Regions from separate parts of the Homo sapiens genome. Here region 2 is linked to region 1. Evidence: promoter capture Hi-C in 16 types of primary human blood cells and fetal thymus (Javierre and others, 2016). All regions are on one chromosome and are shown on one strand. Each heading gives the region's core, a stretch centred on a gene start or on the middle of the fragment in contact. The rest is flanking DNA. Distances are from core to core; before and after follow the strand shown.

Region 1 (3,238 bases), core at 553-3,052:
TCAGCCCGCCTTTACTTACCTTCTTCATCTGGCTTCCCGGATGTCACATCTCTTGGTTTTTGGTTGGTTTTTCCAGTTGGCTTTTCCAATTTATACCTGCAGCATGGATCTCTCCTCTGAACTCCAGATACATAAATCTGTCTATTTGACATTGCCTTGGATGTCTAGAAGGCATTTCAAACTTAGCAGGTCCCACACTTAGCTCCTAATTGTCAGTCCTGCCTCCAGCACACGCCCCTCTCGGTGTTCCCCATCGCAGTCGAGGACAACTGCATTCTTCTAGTTTCTCAGGCCTCAAACCTTAGAATCATCCGAGACTCCTGTCTCTCACATATCTCATCTGTCAACGAATCCCATCAGCTCTACCTTCAAAATATGTCCAGAATCCACCACCTCCACTGCTAACACCTGGCTCACTATCTCCTAGTAACCTGGAGGGCACTGTCTTCAGTCTGATCTTCACACAGTAGCCGCAGTATGAAGACACAGGGTAGACCATGCCTCTCTTCTTCTCCAAACTCTCCAGTGGGTTCCTCCTAGTCAAAGTCAAACCTCACTTGGCCCTCTAGACCTCACCTCTGCATCCTCCCGCTGGCCTTATCTCCTCCACCTCTGACCCTTGCTAGCTCTATTTCAGCTCCACCGGTCTCCTGGCCATTCCCTGAACCTGAAACATGGTCTCCTACCCCAGGGCCTGTGCACTGGCTCTCCCGGTGAGGAAACCGCTCTCCTTCCCATCTCCACCGGCGCGTTGCATCCTTCACCTCTTTGCTCACATATCCCTTTCTCAGAGAAGCTTTTACTGAGGCCTCTGCTCACCCTCTTCTCCCCTCCACATTCCGTGTCTTCCTTTTCTATTTCGTTTCTCTCTATGGTACTTATGGCTTATGTAACAAACTAATCTATTGTTTATATATTTATTTTTACTGTTTCTCTGTGAAAACGTACACTCGAAAAGGGCAGGAGTTTTGTCTGTTTGGATCAGGCTCCACCCCTGGAAGGTAGGACAGTGTTCAGCACAGCAGGTGCTCAATAGGTGTTGTTTCGTGAATCAGCACATCAATTGCAGCATTGTGGCTACCAGGGGGTCAGGATGCGGGCGGTGGAGCCCTCTGGCCTTTGTGTGGTAGCCGAGGACTCTGTGTCAGCGACCGTTTTCCGGGAAACTTCCGGGCGAGACTCACATCTTGGAAATTCAAATACTCAATAGCTCTCGAATTCTAGGAATCTTGAGAAGAGGCCTGGATTAAGGATTCAGACGTGGGCCCTCAGATGGGTGAGAAACGGGGACTCTGTGTCTCCTAGCGGGGACAGAAGGGCCAGGTGACAGGCCAGGCAGAGTGGACGGGGCTTGGGCAGGGGGCGGGGGCAGGCAGCCACACGGGGCAGGAGCTGCAGAGCTAAAGCCAGGCCATGTGGACTGGCTGCGGGTTTCGCTGCCTAGCTGGTGGCATTGAGCAAGTTACTTAACCTTTCTGAACTTCCGTTTTATGATTTTGGAGGAAACAGTCATAGCTTTCTCTCTGGCAGAGTCCGATGGCCCGAGTCCCGCTCCACAGTGCGGGTGGAGGGCACGGAGGGGTGTGTGTGGGGGGCGACAGCCCAGGAAGACTAGGGGGCGGCAGGGCGCGTGGGGGCGGGGGTTGGGAGACCGCAGGGAGGATCCCCGACCTTGTCTGAAGATCCAAGCAGGCGGAGCCGCGGTCTGGTCCGCGGGGTAGGCGGGGCGCAAGAGTGTTCCCGGGGGCGGGGGGCCGACCCGCGTCTAAAGGTTTCCGCGATTCACCCGCCGGCGCCTGGCCTGGCCCAGTTGCACCACGAGCGCTGCGGACACTCGGGGCGGCAGTCGGTCTGTCAGTCCTCCCGCCAGGTCCCGCGGCCCGCACCTGCCGCCCGCACCTGCAGCTCCGCACCTGCGGCCAGTGCCTACTGCCCTCTCTTGCCGCCCGCACCTGCAGCCCCGCACCTGCCGCTTGCACCTGCAGCCCCGCGCTCTACCCGGTTCAAGCATGGCTGACCAGGCGCCCTTCGACACGGACGTCAACACCCTGACCCGCTTCGTCATGGAGGAGGGCAGGAAGGCCCGCGGCACGGGCGAGTTGACCCAGCTGCTCAACTCGCTCTGCACAGCAGTCAAAGCCATCTCTTCGGCGGTGCGCAAGGCGGGCATCGCGCACCTGTGAGTCGGGCCTTGGGCGGTGGGCCCCGTCCTGTCTGTCTGCCTGGGGAGCCTGCCCGGCGGGCTGACGTTGGGCCCTCTGAGCCTCCTGCCGTCAGCCTCTGTCTGTCCGTCTGATGTCTGAGCGCCTCTCTCGCTCTCTGTCTGGTAGCCCCTCTCTCCAGAAGCTGGCTCAGCCTCACTCAAGTCCTCATCTCCTCCCTTGACCTTGGAGGGGCCCACCTGGGGGTCCGTCTCACAGGTGTACACCTGATTCCATCTTGCATTCCTCTTCTCTGCCCTGAGCAGCCTGCCTCGTACCCCTCTCAGCCGGCCAAGTGTGGGCACCTGGCCTGCCCGTCATACCCGCCCTAGCCTCAGACAGGAAAGTGCTAGCTCAGGTGCCTTCCTTCCCCATTTCTTCTTTGTCCTCCTTCACTCTTTCTGCAATTAGGGACCCAAGTCAGGTTTCTAATCCAGTTATCTCTGACCTGAAACAAGACCTGTTAGGAGCGAGTGTCCCCCCCGCCCCCCCCGCAAGCAGGCTGGGAGGTCTCCTGTGTGTCCAGAGCCTTTAGGAGCAGCAGGGCTTGTGTGCAAAGGAGCTCCCGTGGGCTGCCCCTTGCTGGGACAGTTGCCATGCTGTGCCAGAAACAGGAAACACCCAGGGCTTCAAAACCCCTATCGATTTGCAATGATGGTGTGTGCAGCCTCTGCCCAATTAGTGGAAAGCTCAAAAGTGGTTTGTAGAATGGTTCTGAATGCGCTATGGAGTGCATCTCGAACGTCACTGGGCACAGGAATCATTTGGGGATCTTGGTAAGATGTGTGCCCTCCTTCCATAGCTCTGGGACAGGTCCTGAGATTCTGCATTTCTAAGAAGTTCTCCTGTGGTGGGTGCTGCCCATCAGATACTGTTTGTCTACTCATCACATTGTGAGTAGCAAGGGGTCAAGTGGAGTGGAGACTCAAAGGACCCCTTCTTGTGAGGTTTTTTGTAAGTCACACAACATCCTTTCGTTTGTGTTGGTGTGCACAGGTATTTTCTTTTTCTTTTCTTTTTTTTTTTTTTTTTGAGAT
Region 2 (3,238 bases), core at 333-2,832, 1.6 Mb before region 1:
CTACCCCTGAGCACTGAGCCTCCTGCTGGCTGGAGTGGAGGCCCTTGTGACTGACAGTGGAGCTGAGTGGCCTCCCTATCCCTGATTTCTGTTTCTAGACCGTCTCTATCCCTCTCCTGGCCAAAAACCAAGCTATCTAGCCATGCACCGGCCAGCCTCATGGTGACTCCTGGGCCTGGCTTCTTGGTTCCTCTTGGTTACAGACTTCAGCGCCTGACCTCCCTCTTCACCCCCACTCATGTCCTCAATCACAGGGAGTTCAATATCCAAGTAGAGCACCCATCCACCTCCTTGGCTATTTGTCCTTGACATTGTAGCACTAAGGACCCTTTTTCCCCTCCACTGCAACCATCCACTTCCGTGGTCACACACTGAGTCTCATCATTCACAGAAGTCATTTTATCCAAATCTCATTTTCAAGCATTCCATTCTCTGACAAGCACTCCCTGTTGTTCTAGTCTCCTGGCTGCTAAGATTCCTCAATCTCATCAAAGGCTGTAACCCACTAAACCCTACACTTTGCCTGTCAAAGGCTTCCCCTAACTCATTCTCCAGTTAGATGTCATGGTCATGTGTATTATCATTCCCTTCAAGAAAACCTCTGTGCCCCTTCCTGGCTGTCCTCTGTCCTGCATGTGGCAGGCTGTATTTTCCAAAGGTGATCCTTCTACCCACTCCTCCACAATGTGACCTTGCTATTTCCCATTGAGAAGTGGAGTCTGATTCCTTGCCCTTGAATCTGGACTGGCCATATGACTTCATTATATCTAAAAGAATGCAGTGGGCTGGGCATGTTGACTCACACCTATAATCCCAGCACTTTGGGAGGCCAAGGTGGGAGGATTGCTTGAAGCCAGGAGTTCGAGACCAGCCTGGGCAACATAACAAGATCCTGTCTCTACAAAAGTAAAAATAAAATAAAATAAAAAATAAAATAAAATAAATAAAAATAATGCATTAGAAGTAACAGCACTAGCTTGGAAATGGCCCCACAGCTGTCCCCTGGTCCCTCTGGGATTCTTACTCTGGGGAAATCAGCCAATCAAGTAAGTATCCAATTGCCCTGAAACTTCCATGCTAGAAAGACTATATAGGCTCTTGAGTCAACAGTCTCAGGGGTCCTTGTGGTCCCAGCCTTCCTGCCATCTCAAGGTGCCAGACACGTGAGGAAAGCTGTCTTGGATGCTCCAGACCAGCCTGTCTCCCAGCTGAGTCCCATTGAGTGACCTCTGCCAATGCTACGAGGAGCATAAGAAGCATCCAGCTGAGACCTGCCTGAATTCCTGACCTTTGAGATAGAATCAAATTGCTGTTCTTTAGAGCCACCAAGTTTTGAGGAGGTTTGCTGTGTAGTAATCAAAACAGAAGTACTCTACTTGAAGACCCCAAGCTTGATTGGACCCAGTTGTCTGCCTTTTTTGTTCCTATTCCTGAGCAGCTGGAGAAAATTGAAAATTGCTAAGCAGAAATGACTGGCTTCACTTCAAACATCAAATGGCACAACGCCTAGCAATCCCATGATGCTTGCTCTTGTTGTAGTCGTCGGACTATTTCACACATTGCTTCTTGCCTCAAACTTCTTCCATTCCCTTCTTCTTTCCCAAGTCATCTGAGGAGAGATGTCAAATAGGCAGCAGGCTAGATAAGTCTGGAGTTCAGGAGAGAAGTGGTGATAGAGAAAAAAATTTAAGAGGCATTAGGGTGTAAGTGGAATGTAGAATCATAAAACTGGATGATATCACTAGGTTGGAGCATGAGTGAGTCCTCAAGCTTCCCAAGGCTTAGAGGTCTGGTAGAGGAAGGAGAAGCCAACAAAATGGGTCTGGAAGGATGGCTGGGGGTTAGAGTAAAACCAGGAGAGCATCACGTTCCAAAAACAGAGAAGAGAGCCAGGTACGCTGGCTTACGCCTGTAATTCCAGCACTTTAGGAGGCCGAGGTGGGCAGATCATGAGGTCAAGAGTTCAAGACCAGCTGACTAACATAGTGAAACCCCGTCTCTACTAAAAATACAAAAATTAGCCGGGTGTGGTGGCGGGCGCCTGTAATCCCAGCTACTCAGGAGGCTGAGGCAGGAGAATCGCTTGAACCTGGGAGGCAGAGGTTGCAGTGAGCCGAGATCGTGCCACTGCACTCCAGCCTGGGCAACAGAGTGAGACTGTCTGAAACAAAAACAAAAACAAAAAACAGAGAGGAGAATGTTTCTAGAGGGCAAGGCCTTGTGGAGGTGAGAGGAGGTAAGGTAGAGAGGATGGACGTGGATACCTGGGACGTCCTCCATGGCAATAGGAAGGGACAGGGAGGTGCACAGAGATGCTTCTGGACACTAGATTAGACAGCAGAAGATGAGGGAGTGCCCAACCGATGATGTTATTTATTTTCTCTGTAAAGTATGGATGTCTAATAGGCATCTCAGACTTGTGGTGTCTAAAACATAATTCCTTCCTTACCTCCAAACCCACTCCTACCTCGGCCTTTCCCAGCCCAGTTAATGATTTCCCCATTCAGTGCTTTGACTGGAAACACCAGTTCCTCATCTTCTCTCACACTCCATGTCCAATCCAACAGCAAGTCCTTCTGGCTCTACCCTAAAAATGTGTGTTAAATTTGGTCATTTTTCATGGTTTCTACTGCTGTTGCCCTTGTCCAAGCCACCTTTGCCTACCACCTGACCATGACCTTTGCTGAGCTCCTTGTGGTCACTCTTGCCGTTTCCGAAGATCTGTGACCCTCAGAACTCTAAAAGAGATAAGCGTAAAACACAGAAATCAAATTTAATGACCCCACTTAAACCACTCCGTTGTTTTCCCATCGTGCTTAAAACAAAATCCCAACTCCATAGGAATTGGTGGGCATTGATTTTGGATTTGGTAAATAGAGGACTCAGCTAGGGACATAGGAAAGTGAGCCTCTGACAGTTGCCCCCCCAAAGTGGACAGGTCTGAAAATTCAGGTTACGGTTGGCATTATGTTTGCAGTTGTGGCTACAGTTTAGAGCTGTTCTAGTCACATGAATGAGGTCTTGTAAGATACTGGGACAGGCTCACATTGAGAAACTGATCCTGCTGGCCTAATCAGAATATCACTTCCCCTTTTGTGGAGACCACCCTGGCTGGGATAGGGAGGGTTGTCTTGTTACTGCTCCCTCATGGCCTCCTCTGACACTGTGGGGGATGTGGCCCTTTTATTGTTGAATGGAAGTGAAAATCTAGACACTCCACTTGGCCTCCTCTGATGCC

What was found. The method cuts DNA at HindIII sites, captures the fragments that hold promoters and counts their contacts. A CHiCAGO score of 5 or more calls a contact.
Region 2: a fragment that was not itself captured here is called in contact with the fragment with the promoter of FBP1 in region 1 in 1 of 17 cell types (total CD8 T cells); the score reaches 5.0 in total CD8 T cells.

The regions. Positions count from the first base shown.
Region 1 is chr9:94,638,082-94,641,319 of GRCh38, reverse strand. It overlaps FBP1 (fructose-bisphosphatase 1), which reads left to right and starts at 1,802. Exons shown (of 7, transcript NM_000507.4): 1 at 1,802-2,179. The coding sequence starts at 2,010. RefSeq lists a silencer at 1,669-1,728. The HindIII fragment of the contact is 3,451 bases long and covers 799-3,238 here.
Region 2 is chr9:96,194,016-96,197,253 of GRCh38, reverse strand. No RefSeq gene overlaps it. Among named protein-coding and RNA genes, the nearest start is that of HSD17B3-AS1, 51 kb to the left of the region's middle. The HindIII fragment of the contact is 380 bases long and covers 1,393-1,772 here.